Regions from separate parts of the Homo sapiens genome. Here all the other regions are linked to region 1. The links are contacts of gene promoters, found by promoter capture Hi-C in blood cells and fetal thymus (Javierre and others, 2016). All regions are on one chromosome and are shown on one strand. Each heading gives the region's core, a stretch centred on a gene start or on the middle of the fragment in contact. The rest is flanking DNA. Distances are from core to core; before and after follow the strand shown. Region 1 holds the start of RBBP8 (RB binding protein 8, endonuclease). Region 2 overlaps RIOK3 (RIO kinase 3). Region 3 has its middle 7.5 kb from the start of RIOK3.

Region 1 (5,087 bases), core at 896-3,395:
AACTAAATATGAGCTGGATTTTAGATATTAGGAAATTATTAATTTTCTTGGGTATGATAATGATGCGGTTTTGTTTGTTTTTTTTTTAGAAAGGCCTTATCTGTTAAAGGGATATTTACCGAGATATTTACAGGTAAAGGGATATACTCTGCGATTTGCTTGAAAAAAAAAAAATCCAGCAAAAACAAACAAAAATGGATGTTGGGTGAAGAGATGAAACAAGGGCTGAACTTCAACAATTTCTGAAGCTGGGTGGGTGCGTATACAATGGGGTTCATAATTCCAGTATTTCTCTTGTGTACATTTATTTCTGTAAAAAAGTTTTTAAAAGTAGAATTAGGTGCACTGCATTAGTTTTGTTACCAAAGAGGTTTTTATTCTATCTTTAACTCTAACAGATAAACAAATGGGCCTATATATAATTGTGAATAAAAGTCACCATTTGTTTCCCACATACCAGAAACTATAGAATATTAATATTAATATTTGTATTTATATATTATTTAATATATAATTATATATTATAGAATATTTATATTCTACCTAACCTTCAGAAAAACTCTGTAAGACAGCTACTATAATTTCATTTTAGAGTTGGGGGAAGAGGCGTAAGGCAGTAAATGTCCAAGGTCACACAGCTGGGACATGGCTATGTCAGGGATGGAAATCAAGTCATGAGACCAATAACTGTAAAATACCTCTCTGTAGCCCGCATGTTCTCAATCATAGGTGGGAACTGAACAATGAGAACACCTGGACACAGGAAGGGGAACGTCACACACCGGGGCCTGCCGTGGGGTGGGGGGAGGGATAGGATTAGGAGATATACCTAAAGTAAATGACGAGTTAATGGGTGCAGCACACCAACATGGCACATGTATGCATATGTAACAAACCTGCACGTCGTGCATATGTACCCTAGAACTTAAAGTATAAAAAATAATAATAAAATAAAGAAAAAATACCTCTCTGCAGCAAAAAGAAAAAAAAAGAAGACATAAACGATTTCTATTAAGTCAACAGTTTAAAATGAAGGTTTAATTACTTCAATGACCGAAAAAGTATTAACATATTCGTTTAAAGAGTGTAAAATAAGCATCCTTTACGTATCTATCTTCAAGTAAGTGATGTACAGTGCCTTAAAAACAAAACATAAAAACAAAACATTCAACTTGCAAATTCTGGCTCGCAAAACCCTTTCCACCTACCCGCATGCCCGGCACTTTTTGTTAGCATCTCTCTCTGCAATGAACCGTTATTCGAGGCACGACGACAATGTACATTTTTCAATCTCTCAGAACGTCACGTCTTACCTCCCAAGTTGCATTCTGGGCTCAAAGGCCTGTAATTTGTGTGTATTCCTTAGTATAAACCACTACACTGCAGGTGCTCACCAAAATACTCGCTGCCACACCACAGGTATTCTCACACGGGTAAGGCGAGAGGCACATTTCATCACACAGGGGACTTGAACAAACTGCACGGGACATTTCAGGGGTCCTCTTATGGGCGGAGCAGAGCAGCGGGGCAAAGGCTTTCCAGCCAGGTCCCTTCTCCATCCATTTCTCCCCAGGTGCCCGCGCCGGTTCCGCGTGCGGGTCTGGCCAAAAAACCTCCGAAGCGCGCGCGCGAGCCGCAGTCGGCGCATGCGCGGGGCGGGCTTGGCGGCGAAAGGCGCTTCCTCAGCCCGCGCGGGAGACCCAGAAGTAGTACTGAGGTAGCGCTCGTCCTCCCGCCGGTCCACCACCACCGAGTGTAGCCCGGGCCCGGCCTATTTCATCAGACACAACCCCAGAGCCGGGAGCCACCCCTACCCCGGGAGCCCTTCGCCAAGCACGCAGCTCCAGACCAGAAGCAGTCGCTCCGACCCAGAGCTCCGGGTGGGGTAAAGAGATTGCTTTTACTCACCGCCTCCGAGATTGCCTCGGGATTCGCGAAAGCCCCCGAAGGGAAGCGAGCACTTTCTGAGGCTGTGAAAGGACGGCTGCTCGCTTTTCTCTTTCGCCCTTTTCCCTCACCAGAGTGCCAAATCCTCGGTGGGAAAGCCGACCCCTCCGGACAGCCCGCGCTTTAAGGCCGGGGGCTGCCGGCCGGGCTCGGAGGCGGCCGGACCCGCCCCGCCCGGGAGCCCGCGCGACGTCACGCGGGAGTTCCACTTGCGTCACGCCCCTTCCTCCAGCTGCCCATCGCGGCGGCGCACTTCGTGCCCTAGCTGAGGAGCGGGCTCTTCGGTGCGGCCCATCCCGGAGGGCGATGGTTGGGGAGGGGAGCGCTACCTCGGAGCTGCCGGGAGCTACCCGAAGAGTCTGGCGACCGCCACAGCATTTCTGAATTGCGCTGGGGAAAGCTCAAGCCGTTCTGTTGGGGGAGCATCAAGCCCTTGCGGTTCTGTGAAAGTTATCTGTACACTGTGTCTAGCTTAAGCATTTTGCAGGGAAGCATGTGTAGAGTGACCTGTACCGAATGAAGAGTTAAAATTAACTGATGGGGGGTATGGACGCGGATCCGTCTAACATAGTTTTCGGCCTTGTCGCTGTTATCTGCAGTTTAGTGATGTGACCTGACAGGGTTGTGCGGTAACGCCATAGATCAAAACGATCTGTATTTTGCTGAGGTTAAACGGGAAGTTTCTGGCAAATTTGAAACGAGAAGGAATCTCCTTCAGCATTATTTATTGGGACAACATGCTGTTAGATAATTTTTTTTAAAAAGTCCATTTTTCTTGTGGCTGTTCGTTTGAGATTCAAACCGATAGTAGGTATTCCTATTTCTCCTGATTTGTAAAAGAATCGTTTTTAGACCACTAGAAATTCTACAAATGAACAAAATAGACTAGAATCAAATATCTTTTAAACCAGTCCAGTACTTTTGTGTAATTATTCTAAGACCTGGGAAGGGATAATATTAACAGGCTTTAAAAGTTTAGTACTTAGAAATCATAAATACAAAGTGGAAAGGTAATTTTTCCACCTGTCCCACATCTTAAGGGATGAATAAATATAACTTAAAAAGTTAGTATACAGAAGAGGGGTGCTAAACCTTCTATTAGCCTGTTACAGCAACTATCATTCACTTCCCCATTTTATAAGACTTAACTCCACATTTTTAAAAGAAAATGGATGAAATTTTGACTATGTAATTTTTAACGCAAGATAGGAAACATAATTGACAGAGTGAAGCTTTTATGTTTATGACAGAAATAACCTGTAATAAGTTTGTCATTTAACAGAGTATTGAAAGAGCAGTGTGCTGTGGTCTCTACTGTGGTCCAAAGAAAAACTGAGCAGAATGACCCAACCTGTTCCTATGGCCTCTGCCTGTGTCTCACTCTCTAATCCATTTATGCAAGTCAGAAACCAAAGAGTCATCCTTGACACTTTATTCATCCCTAACTTCCATATCCAAGCCATCACGCAGTCCAATTTTACTTACTAAACATGTAAATCCATCCCCTTCTCTCCATCACTACCTCCATAATCCAAGATACTGTTATTTCTTACCTAGTCTACTGCTAGGCTCCTTTCCACATCCACGCTACCAACCACCCCTCCTAAATCTTTGTTTTCACTGGTGTTCAGAAAAAAATTTGAACTTCTATTCTCCATATATATATTTAATTTTAAATTACATACATGTACTGTTGAAAAATGGTACATGATCTAATGAAGTTACAGGCTCTGAAGTCAGACATCTGGGTTTAAATCCTGCTCTAATACTTCCTTACTGAGTGACTTTGGACTGACTGCTTAAGCTCGCTGTCCCATTTTACCTACCTGTAAATTGAGGATAATAATAGTACCAACCTCACAGGGTATTAAGATTAAATGAATATATGTAAACTGCTTAGTATTCAGATATATACTATGTGCCCAAAAGCTAGCCATAATTAGTATTTCTTAGCTAATATGATTATAATCCATTTTAAAAGCATTTTTAAAGGATAAAAAATAGAATAAAAATACATCTTCCCTCCTCCACCTTAAATTGTGTCTACTTTGAGACCACTTCTCTATACTGCAGCTACTGTGATCTTGAAAAGTAAATCTGTTAATGTCACTATGCTGCTTAAACCCTTTCAGTGGCTTCCAGTTACTCTGTGAAGGAAGCCCCTTTGAATTGCCTCTGCTACCCCTTTGGCTTTATTTCCAGACATTTTCTGTCCTCTGGTCTCACTAGACTTTTGATGTCTCCTAGGCCATTGCGTGCTATTGTCTCTGCCTGGAGTTCTCCACCAAACCTACCCCCACTCTTTGCCCCAGCTATCTACTAATCATGTTTTTATCTTATTTCAATAGTCTCTTCTACTAGATCCTCCTACAGTACCATGTAACCTCCCCATCTTACAGTTTTTATTGTTTTAGTTATTTAATTAATTCTGTCTCCCCACTGGACTGTAAATTTCTTGAGATAAAAAACCACGTCTTGGGCCAGACTTTGGGTGGCTGAGGCAAGAGGATCACTTGAGGCCAGGAGTTCAAGATGAGCTTGGGCAACATAGTGAAATCTTGTCTCCTATTCTAAAAATCAAACCAAAATAGCTGGACACAGTGGTTCGTGCCTCTAGTTCTAGTTACTGTGGAGGCTGAGGTGGGAGGATTGCTTGAGCCCAGGAGTTCAAGGCTGCAGTGAACTATGATTGTGCCACTGTACTCCAGCCTAGGTGACAGAGCGAGAGACCCTGTCTTAAAATTAAAAAAATAAAAAATAAAAAAGGTTTGTTCACCCTTTTATCTCCAGGAACTAGCCCAGTGTCTGCCACCAAATCAATATTCTATGAATGAATGAAATGGGCATTCCCTGGTGGATCCCATTTCTATGTAAATGGAAACCTTTGGGTACATTCAAAATTCTTAGATTTTTAAATGAGATTTTATATGGCCACTTTAACAATGGAAATGGCGGGCATCCTCATAGATAGGTTCTAAAGCTTTAAGAACCACATGGAATAAATTTTGAGGTTCCAAAGATCTGCTGAAAAAACATCTTTAACAGAGAAGCAGTTATTTTGAACTCTTCATAATACTGGGTTTCTCATATGTTGTGGCTTAGGACAGTACTTCCCAAACTTTTTCAATTTCAGCATGCTT
Region 2 (5,087 bases), core at 1,341-3,840, 550 kb before region 1:
TTTATAGTCTTTGTTAGACTCTATGACAGATGTCTGAAGGCATATGTAGCCAAATTTGTATAGTGGCTCTCACTACTTGGCATGTTTTCAGGTGGCTTTTACTTTGTTCTTTAAACTTTCTAAAGTCCTTTTTGTTTTAAAATGAGGATGAATAATATTTACAAAGAGCTATTTCTAAAGTATGTATTTGCTGGCAAATCTTGACTACGTATCACTGTTTTGGAACCTGCTTTTTCATTTCAGAAGTGTTTTATGTTTGAATGCATCTTTCTTTCTCTCTTTTCTTTCTTTCTTTCTTTCTTTCTTTCTTTCTTTCTTTCTTTCTTTCTTTCTTTCTTTCTTTTTCTTTCTTTTTTTTTTTTTTGAGACGGAATTTCCCTCTGTGGTCCAGACTGGAGTGCAGTGGTGCGATCTCGGCTCACTGCAACCTCCACCCCCCGGGTTCAAGTGATTCTCCTGCCTCAGCCTCCCAAGTAGCTGGGATTACAGGTGCCTGCCACCATGCCCAGCTAATTTTTGTATTTTTAGTAGAGATGGGGTTTTGCCATGTTGGCCAGGCTGGGCTTGAACTTTTGACCTCAGGTGATCCACACGCCTCGGCCTCCCAAAGTGCTGGTATTACAGGCGTGAGCCACCGTGCCGGGCCTGAATGCATGTTTCTTTCTACATTTGCATTTGCATGTACATATGTATATAACAAGTGTCAGGAGTAATGTATATGGTGATTGTCTTGTACTGTGGGTGATTTCTGCTTTTTTCCCCCTATGGTTTCCAGAAGTTTCAGGAGGGTCTGCAGATGCTGGTAAGACCCCCGCCCCAGTTGGTTTCCAGGTTCTTGACACCTTTTCGAGAAAGAATTCAGGGACAAGTCAGAATGAAGGGAAAGGCAAAAAGCTTTTATTGCAAAGTGATAGTATGCACTGAAGAGAGAAGTGCAGGCATGTTTGTGAGAATGAGTCACACAGAGGGAGTTTGGGTTTCTAATTTTATGGGTGTTTCTTTAATTAGGGGGTGAAATAATCATTAGGTATTTTGGAAGAGGGGGGATTTCAGGGACCCCCCACTGTCCCACACCCCCAGGTACCACCCCCTTTCTCCCTGATTTGGGTTTGCACTGAAGAGTCATGGACATGTCACCCTGTCTCTGTTGCCAAGGCTGGAGTGCAGTGGCGTGATCTCGGCTCACTGCAACCTTTGTCTCCTGGGCTCAGGTGATCCTCCCGAGTAGCTGGACTATAGGCGTATGCCACCATGCCCAGCTATTTTTTTTTTTTTTTTTTTGTATTTTTGGTAGAGAAGGGGTTTCACCATATTGCACAGGCTGGTCTCGAACTCCTGACCTCAGGTGATCTGCCCTCCTCAGCCTCCCACAGTGCTGGGATTACAGTCATGAGCCACCAAACCCAGCCTTCTCCTCCTGATTTTGGGTTTTCTGTTATCCCACAGTTTCTTTGCCTAGCTCTTGTTTAAGCTCTTGTGTGGATTCTTCCATCCTCTTGCGAGCACCCAGTGATCTTCCTATCTCATTCCCCCTTCAGAGATTTCCATCCCTTATTCTTAAGGGTTGATGAGGGAGGAGGTCAGTCATCTGTGTCGTCTTCTTGCTGATTTAAGGGCGCTGGCCCTGCCTACCAAAGGATTGGAAATCTCTGGCTGCTGGTCTAAGGATCCCAGGCTGCATTAGCAGGAGAGTCCCATGCTGAGACAGGAATTGGCTGAAATCCTTGCATCACCATCATCTTTACATGGAGTTGCTGTAACCTAGAAGATATAAACTTTATAAGGAAGTTGAATACGCATGGGCCAAATATTTTTATTATTATTATTTTATTTATTTTTTGAGACAGAGTCTCACTCTGTCACCAGGCTGGAGTGCAGTGGTGTGATCTCGGCTCACTGCAACCTCCGCCTCCCAGGTTCAAGCAATTCTCCTGCCTCAGCCTCCTGAGTACCTGGGACTACAGGCGCGTGCCACCATGCCCAGCCAATTTTTGTATTTTTAGTAGAGACAGGGTTTCACCATATTGGCCAGGATGGTCCCAATCTCTTGACCTCATGATCTGCCCGCCTCAGCCTCCCAAAGTGCTGGGATTACAGGTGTGAGCCATCATGCTCGGCCCAATGGGCCAAATACTAACAATAAGATCACCATTAATGGGCCTAAAAGTGGTAAAACCAGGTAACAGAAAGTAGAGCAGCCTTAACGCATTCCCTTTGGAATCGGCCAAAAGGTTTTCCTTTCCAAAGGTGTGAAGCCCTTTTGCTTGGTCAGCTGTGCCTGAATTCCAAAGTGGGGGAAGGTATGGCGAGGCGTGACTGACTCCCAGCTTCCTGTCATGACCTGAACTAGGTTTTCAGGCTGTTTCGGTTGTTGTTTGGATTCCCTTTGGCCAAGAGAGAGATCCATTCTGTTGGGGGCTTCTAATTTTTTTTTTTTTTTTTTTTTTTTAGTTTATATTTTCTCTTTTTTTGTCAACGCATCCCAGAGGCAGTGTTGATGGCCAAGCTTTCATTCTGGCCCATATTGATGCTGGGGTGGCATGCTACAGGCCCTGGGTCCTTCATGTCCCCTAGTGGGACCCCTATGGCCAAGAGACTTAGAGTCAAAAAAACTTATTGCCAATTAAACATGCTAGACAAGATAGGAATGGAGGTGGGCAGGGACTCAAGCTTCAGCCTGTTTTCCCTTTGCTCCCCCTTTCCCTTTTGTGTGCACTTTTAGGTCTGAAGGTTTGTCCTTTCCTGCTGCCTTCTTTTTTGGCTTCGTTTCTACTTTTGCAGGAGCAGGGTTAGGGGACAACTGTGCCCATCTCCTCCTGGGCTTTTCCTTCACAGCCCTCTTGACTGAGCTGACCTTCCTCCTGGGCATGTTGGTGGTGGGGAGGGGGCCTGCCGGGTGCCTACGGGCAATGGCGAAACCAGAGCCTTCTGGAAGCTGGGCTCACCAGCTGCTGCCGCTCCTCCCACCACCCAAGCTGCCGAGACCTGTGGCAGATTTTTTTCCCTCAAGTTTATAGAGCTATCTGTAGTAGCTCACTCATGTATTCTGTAATGAATACCCCACCTTCCCCACCCCTCCATCTGCCACTTTCTTATCTACCGAATTTGATCTTAACTCCTCAAAAAGCTAGCCAAGTCTGGGAGAAAGTTGGAAAGCTTAGGATGGTAAAAGTAATGCTGTTCCAAATGCAACCTTGTATTATTTTTACACTGGAAACAAATCGGAAAAGAATAAAAACAAGAGGCTTTCAAATTAGTAAACTGATGTCTCCAAGTATAAAACACACTTTGATAACTTATTTTTATGTAATCCTGACAAAAATCCAATAGAAAAATATTGTCTTCAAAAACCTAAGGATCAAGGTTTGAAAATATAATCAGATGAGCTTTTCTCTGCTCCTATAGAGCTTGGAATTTCAAAAGGTGCAGAAAACAATCTCTTCTGATGCCCGGAGCCCAAATGAGCAGTAAGAAATGTACTCCTAACACATCTTAGGGCCTATTGTCTTCATCTTCCTTAGAGTCTCCCGTGCTCAACATTTCCCCATCAGCTGCCTCGCTTCATCCTGCTTTTTGTTCAAAGGTTTTTTAAAAAAGGAAATACCATATGCTGAGGGGAAAAAAATTGCAGGGATGTATGCCACACTATAAACAATGGTCTTTGGAATATGAAGGACTTTTACTTTTTTTTCTGAGACAGAGTCTTGCTCTGTTGCCCAGGCTGGAGTGCAGTGGCACCATCTCAGCTCCTCTGCCTCCTGGGTTCAAGTGATTCTCCTGCCTTAGCCTCCCAAGTAGCTGGGATTACAGGCATGTGCCACCACACCCGGCTAATTTTTGTATTTTTAGTAGAGACAGGAATTCACCATGTTGGCCAGACTGGTCTCAAACTCCTGACCTCAGGTGACCTGCCCACCTCGGCTTCCCAAAGTGCTGGGATTACAGGCCTGAGCCACTGCGCCTGGCCGAGGGACTTTTACTTGAACATTTCTGAATTCCTACAATATTTAAATTCAAATAAATGACTTACTTTTGTAAGCAAGAAAAACTAATTTTTATGAAAAGAAAACTGGTAATTATCTTGTTGAAATAAAAGTTATCTAGTCATCCTTATTTTGATAACTTAATGTGAGACAAAATATCCCTATTTCCGTATTTTATATATTTTCATTTTATTAATTTATTTGAGACCAAGTCTTTATCTATCACCCAGGCTGGAGTGTAGTCGTGTGACCATAGCTCACTGCAGGCTTGATCTCCTGAGCTCTAAGAATCCTCCTGCCTCAGCCTCCCAAGTAGCTGGGACCAGAGATGCATGCCACCACACTCACCTAATGTTTTGTAGAGATGAGGTCTGCTATGCTGCTCAGGCAGATCTCAAACTCCTAGGCTCAAGTGATCATCCTGCCTCAGCATCCCAACGTATTGGGATTACAGGTGTGAGCCACCACGCCCAGCCAGTATTTGATTTTTTATTTACTTAGCAAACCAGTATTTTTCACTTTCTTTTTCTACTATGGGAAAAAAATCTACTCTCTAATCTACAAGGTGTGAGGGGGGGAACCTATTTGTAATGTGAAGTAGGCCATTTGCGATTGAAATCTAACAATGAGAAGTTGAGGGGGAATAATCTACTTAAAATAGCATTGCTTAACTTTATACAGAAACAGCAACTTGGTACCAGGACATAAGTTAATATAAGGAACAGGAAGATACCACACAAAGAACCAATTTTAAAATGATCTCTTTTTAATTTCTTAAAAAGCACATTCACAGCACACTCCAAGAATGCCACACAGCAGTGGTTTGCTGCTCTTTGTCAGAATATGTCAGAAAACAAAACAAAAAAAGTTTTAAATGCTAAAGATTTTAAAAATTAGTTCTCTGAAATTTCTGTAAAGCCAGTATCACCAGTCATATAAATCTTTATTTTGGAATCATAAACCTTTCAAAAATGTAATGAGCATCTACCCAAAATTACACCTCTCTGAAATGTAATTAAAAGCTATCCAACAAAAACAAAAATAAATATTTTTCTAGAAAGAACATATTTGGCATTTTAAAATAATGTTAAAAACAGCTTTCTC
Region 3 (5,087 bases), core at 1,169-3,668, 510 kb before region 1:
CTCTAGTACTATGAGAAAATAAATGTTTGTTGTATAATCACCCAGTCTATGGTATTGTGTTAAGGTAGTCCTAGCAAGCTAATACAGGACTGAAGTACTGATATATGCTACAATGTGTATGAGCATTGAAAAAAACAAGATGCTGAGTGAAAGAAGTCAGACATAAAGGTCACATATTCTATGAATTCATTTATATGAAAAATCCAGAATAGGTGAATTTATAATGATGGAAAGCAGATCGGGGGTTTCTAGGGAATGAGTGGGGAGGGGATAATGGGGAGTGACTGCTTCAAGGGTAAGCTTAATGGGGTTTTCTTTAGGGGTGATATAGGTGGTGGCAGCACACCATTGTGAATCTGCTAAATGCTGAATTTTACACTTTAAAATGTTAATTTTATGTTATGTGAATTTCACCTCAATTTTTAAAAAAAGTAACAAAGATAGTGGGCTACTGAAGGATTTTAGAGGTAGAGAAGATGCAGGCAATTCTGAGGTCAGAGGAAGCCATAATGAAGAGGTGGTGAGGTTGAGGTTGGGAAGCTTAACGGATCAGGATAAAAATGTCAGTGTATTGGATGGGTGATATGCGTGGACCCTAAAACCACCCAGCAAGATGGCAGGACTTGAGGTAGATTGGAAGAGAATGTACCGGTGCCACAGTCTTAGACAATGTGCAGATTGTACCCAAGAGATTGGTAGATGATGCTAAGGAAATTTAGAGGTCATGATAATGGAATGGTTAGAGACTGGAGAGACCTGACAACCTGAGGGGCCAGGAATAACATTTTGGGAGCTGTGCTGGGGAGAGTGAAGAATGCTGCCCTGCCCTGGAGGGAAATGAATAGTTCCAGAAGACCCTAAGGTTTTAAATGAGGCAAGAAAGTAGGGATGGCAGGCTGTAAGGACAAGGGAAGTTGATTAATCCCTTGTTATGGGTTTAATGGTTTATGAGTTCCCATGGGTTTTGTGGTTTAACAATTTTAATGGTTGCTTGTTGACAGTTAAGATACATACCTGATGCCACCAACTATGTACTCCTTAAAAAGGAAGATAGAAGGACATGCACAATATTTGCAAATTCTACATTTACAAATGTTGCTAATAGGAAAAATGTGGTTTACCAATAACAGCATTTAGTCCTATGTGATTTAATAGTGAGTCCTTGAATGGGGAAACGGCCATTTTGCTGTCAGGCAGAGTAAGCAATGTTTAGAGGCTTTGGCTCCAGCTCCTACTCCCTGTCTTCTCTGCTGATGAACTCACTGCTGGTTCTCTGTCTTTTTTTTTTTTTTTTTTTTTTTTGAGACGGAGTCTCGCTCTGTCGCCCAGGCAGGAGTGCTGTGGCGCAATCTCGGCTCACTGCAAGCTCCACCTCCCAGGTTCACGCCATTCTCCTGCCTCAGCCTCCCGAGTAGCTGGGACTACAGGCACCCGCCACCACACCCAGCTAATTTTTTTGTATTTTTTTTTTTAGTAGAGATGGGGTTTCACCGTGTTAGCCAGGATGGTCTCGATCTCCTGACCTCGTGATCTGCCTGCCTCGACCTCCCAAAGTACTTGGATGACAGGCGTAACCCACCGCACCCAGCCAAACTCACTGGTTCTCAGCAGGAACAAAACTATTTGAGAATCTGCCCTGTCTAAACACATGAATCAGCAGATTCTTTGGTCTCTAAAGAGAACAGAAATAAGGCTCTTTAGTTTTTAATATTGAAATAAGTCTATTCTGCAAATAGCTGTTTCAGGCAATGAACAACTATCTATTAACTACCTAGGATGCCCCCAGTCCTTTGGGAAAAACAAAGAACTGTGAGATTGCACTTGGAGAGATAACAATAGTCACACAATAACATTAAATAACAATACAACACCTCTATCTCAAAGAGTGCATGATTTATTTCCAAATGACAGCTATAGACACAAACATTTCAGGATTCATTGTGGGGTAGTGAGATCTGGAAAGGCTGCGTGGCACCAAAGTAGGTCATGAACGCTGGGGAGAAGCTGTAACGCTAGTTTGGGTGGAAGAACAGCCTAAGACTAGGCATAGGGGCAGGAAAGCCCATAGTATATTTAGTGACTGCTGAGTAGTTTCATAAGATTATTAGATGAAATGTTACAGATATGGTTCAGTTAGGGTCAGCTGGGACTCAGCAGTTCTTAAGCCTATCTAACCCATTGCCATTTTTAACAACAAAGATTTTGTTTTGCTCCCTTTACTGCATAGTATCTTTTAAAATTGATATATAATGATCGACTATAAGGGATAAACAAAAGGAAAATTATTTTTATTTATTTATTTTGAGACAGAGTCTTGCTGTGTCACCCAGGTTGGAGTGCAGTGGTACAATCATGGCTCACAACAGCCTTGACCTCCTAGGCTCAAGCAATTCTCTTGCTTCAGCCTCCTGAGTAACTGGGAGGTGTGCGCCACCACACCTGGCTACTTTTTTAATTTTTATATTTTGTAGAAACGGGATTTCACCATGTTGCCAAGGCTGGTCTCAAACTCCTAGGCTCAAGTGATCCTCCTGCCTTGGCCTCCCAAAGTCCTGGGATTACAGGTGTGAAGCACTGTGCCTGGCTTCTAGCATCATTTGTTAAAAAGTGCTGTTCTTTGTTCATCGGATTGTCTTGTCAAAAATCAACTGGCCATAAACGTGAGGGGTTTCAGTTCTATTCCATTGGTCTGTATGTGTATCCTTATGCCAGTACCATACTGTCTTGAGTGTAGCTTTGTAATAATCTCTGAAATTAAGAACTATGAATCCTTTAACTTTGTTCTTCTCTTTTAAGATTTTTAGCTATAAAGGGTCTCTTTAATTTCCATATGAATTTTAGGATCAGTTAGTTAATTTCTGCAGAGAAAAATAAACCAGGTAGAATTCTGATTGGGACTGTATTGAATCTGTAGAATCAACTTGGGGATTATTGCCATCTTAATAATATCCAGTTTTCCAATCCATAAGCATGGGATATTTTTCTGCTTAATTTTATTTATTTATTAATTAATTCAATTGGTCTTCTTTAATGCCCTTCAAAAATATTTTGTAGTTTTCAGATAATAAATTTTTCATTTATTTTGCCAATTTTTCATAAGTATTATGCTTTTTATGGTATTTTAAATAAAACTTATTCCTTAGTTTTATTTTCAGATCGTGCATTGCAAGTGTATAGAAATATAATTGATTTTTGTATATTGATCTTGCATTCTGCAACTTGCTGGATTCATCTACTAGTTCTAACAGTTTTTTAGTGTATTCTTTATGGTTTTCTATATGTGAAATTTTGTCTTCTGTATTAGAGATAGTTTTATTTCTTCTTTTGAAATCTGGATGCCTTTTATTTATTTATTTTTCCTTGCCTTGTTGTCCTGGCTAGAGCCTCCAACACAGTGTTGAATAGAAGTGACAAGTTGGTTATTCTAGTCTGGCTTCTGATCTTAGTGAGGAAAGCACTCTTTCATCATTAGCTATGATGTTAGGGTGTGGGTTTTTATAGAAACCTTTTATGATATTGAGGAAGTTCCCTCCTATTTCTAGCTTCTGAATGTTTTGTTTGTTTGTTCGTTTGTTCGAGGTGGAGTCTAGCTCTGTCGCCCAGGCTGGAGTGCAGTGGCGCGATCTCGGCTCACTGCAAGCTCCGCCTCCTGGGTTCACACCATTCTCCTGCCTCAGCCTCCCGAGTAGCTGTAACTACAGGCGCCCGCCACCACGCCCTGCTAATTTTTTTTTTTTTTGTATTTTTAGTAGAGACGGGGTTTCACTGTGTTAGCCAGGATGGTCTCCATCTCCTGACCTCGTGATCCACCTGCCTCGGCCTCCCAAAGTGCTGGGATTACACGCGTGAGCCACCACGCCCGGCCATAGCTTCTGAATGTTTTTATTGCGAAGGGGTGTTGAATCTTGTCAAATGTCTTATCTATGTCTAGGTATCCTTTATTATATCAATATAATAAATTATCCTTTATTAGATATTGTGTATTATATGAACTGGTTTTGTAGGTTAAACCAACGTTGCATTCCTGGGATAAGTCCCATTTGGTCAAGCTGTATATTCTTTTTCATGTTGCTGAATTCCTTCTGCTAGTGTTTGGTTGAAGATTTTTGCATCTATATTCATAGGAGATATTTATATTCTCTCTGTTTTTTAAGGGTGATTTAAGGAGTTTCAAAATGTGTGCTACTGCTTCTGTCATCTTTTGAGAATTCTGCATGTGTGCTATCATAAAAATTTATTATTAAAAAAAGATTTGTGGGGGAAAAATCCCACAAGCCATTGTTTTATCCAAGCTTCCCTCTTTTTTCATTCAATAAACATTTATTGAGCATTTATGAATATATTATCAAAAAAAATAATGGGCGGGGCGCGGTGGCTCACGCCTGTAATTCCAGCACTTTGGGAGGCCGAGGCGGGCGGATCTCCAGGTTAGGAGATCGAGACCATCCTGGCTAACACGGTGAAACCTCGTCTCTACTAAAAAAAAAAATTACAAAAAAATTAGCCGGGCATGATGGCGGGCGCCTGTAGTCCCAGCTACTCGGCAGGCTGAAGCAGGAGAATGCTGTGAACCCGGGAGGCAGAGCTCGCAGTGAGCCGAGATTGCGCCACTGCACTCCAGCCTGGGCGACAGAGCGAGACTCCGTCTCAAAAAAAAAAAAAAAAAGAGAGATCAAGACCATCCTGGCCAACATGGTGAAACCCCGTCCCTATTAAAAAATACAAAAAAAATTAGCTGGGTGTGGTGGTGTGCGCCTGTAGTCCCAGCTACTCGGGAGGCTGAGGCAGGAGAATCGCTTGAACCCGGGAGGCAGAGGTTGCAGTGAGCCAAGATCGTGCCATTGCACTCCAGCCTGACGATAGAGTAAGACTCCATCTCAATAAATAAATAAATAAATAAATAAATAAAGTAATTAATGATAATGCCCCTTTGGTCTCAAACATCTCAATTAATAATACAAGTACATATTTTCATGTGCATAGCAAGTTTACCTCAATCTCACATTAACAGCTATGGTTCGTCAATGTAAAATCTGCTGATTTTGTTTTAATTCAGTCTTTGTTTCTGGAACAGAATAATACAGCTT

What was found. The method cuts DNA at HindIII sites, captures the fragments that hold promoters and counts their contacts. A CHiCAGO score of 5 or more calls a contact.
Region 2: a fragment that was not itself captured here is called in contact with the fragment with the promoter of RBBP8 in region 1 in 2 of 17 cell types (total B cells and naive B cells); the score reaches 7.2 in total B cells.
Region 3: a contact is called between a fragment that was not itself captured here and the fragment with the promoter of RBBP8 in region 1, in 4 of 17 cell types (total B cells, activated CD4 T cells, total CD8 T cells and 1 more). The highest score is 6.3, in total B cells.

The regions. Positions count from the first base shown.
Region 1 is chr18:22,930,386-22,935,472 of GRCh38, reverse strand. RBBP8 (RB binding protein 8, endonuclease) reads right to left here and starts at 2,145. Exons shown (of 19, transcript NM_002894.3): 1 at 1,909-2,145. It overlaps RBBP8-AS1 (RBBP8 antisense RNA 1), which reads left to right and starts at 1,709. Exons shown (of 5, transcript NR_198963.1): 1 at 1,709-1,885. It overlaps MIR4741 (microRNA 4741), which reads right to left and starts at 2,124; the gene lies at 2,035-2,124. RefSeq lists enhancers at 1,352-1,401, 1,762-1,891, 1,575-2,415 and a silencer at 2,022-2,101. The HindIII fragment of the contact is 3,221 bases long and covers 1-3,181 here.
Region 2 is chr18:23,482,782-23,487,868 of GRCh38, reverse strand. It overlaps RIOK3 (RIO kinase 3), which reads right to left. Exons shown (of 13, transcript NM_003831.5): 13 at 4,729-5,087. Among named protein-coding and RNA genes, the nearest start is that of RMC1, 18 kb to the left of the region's middle. The HindIII fragment of the contact is 164 bases long and covers 2,509-2,672 here.
Region 3 is chr18:23,443,240-23,448,326 of GRCh38, reverse strand. No RefSeq gene overlaps it. Among named protein-coding and RNA genes, the nearest start is that of RIOK3, 7.5 kb to the left of the region's middle. The HindIII fragment of the contact is 3,752 bases long and covers 543-4,294 here.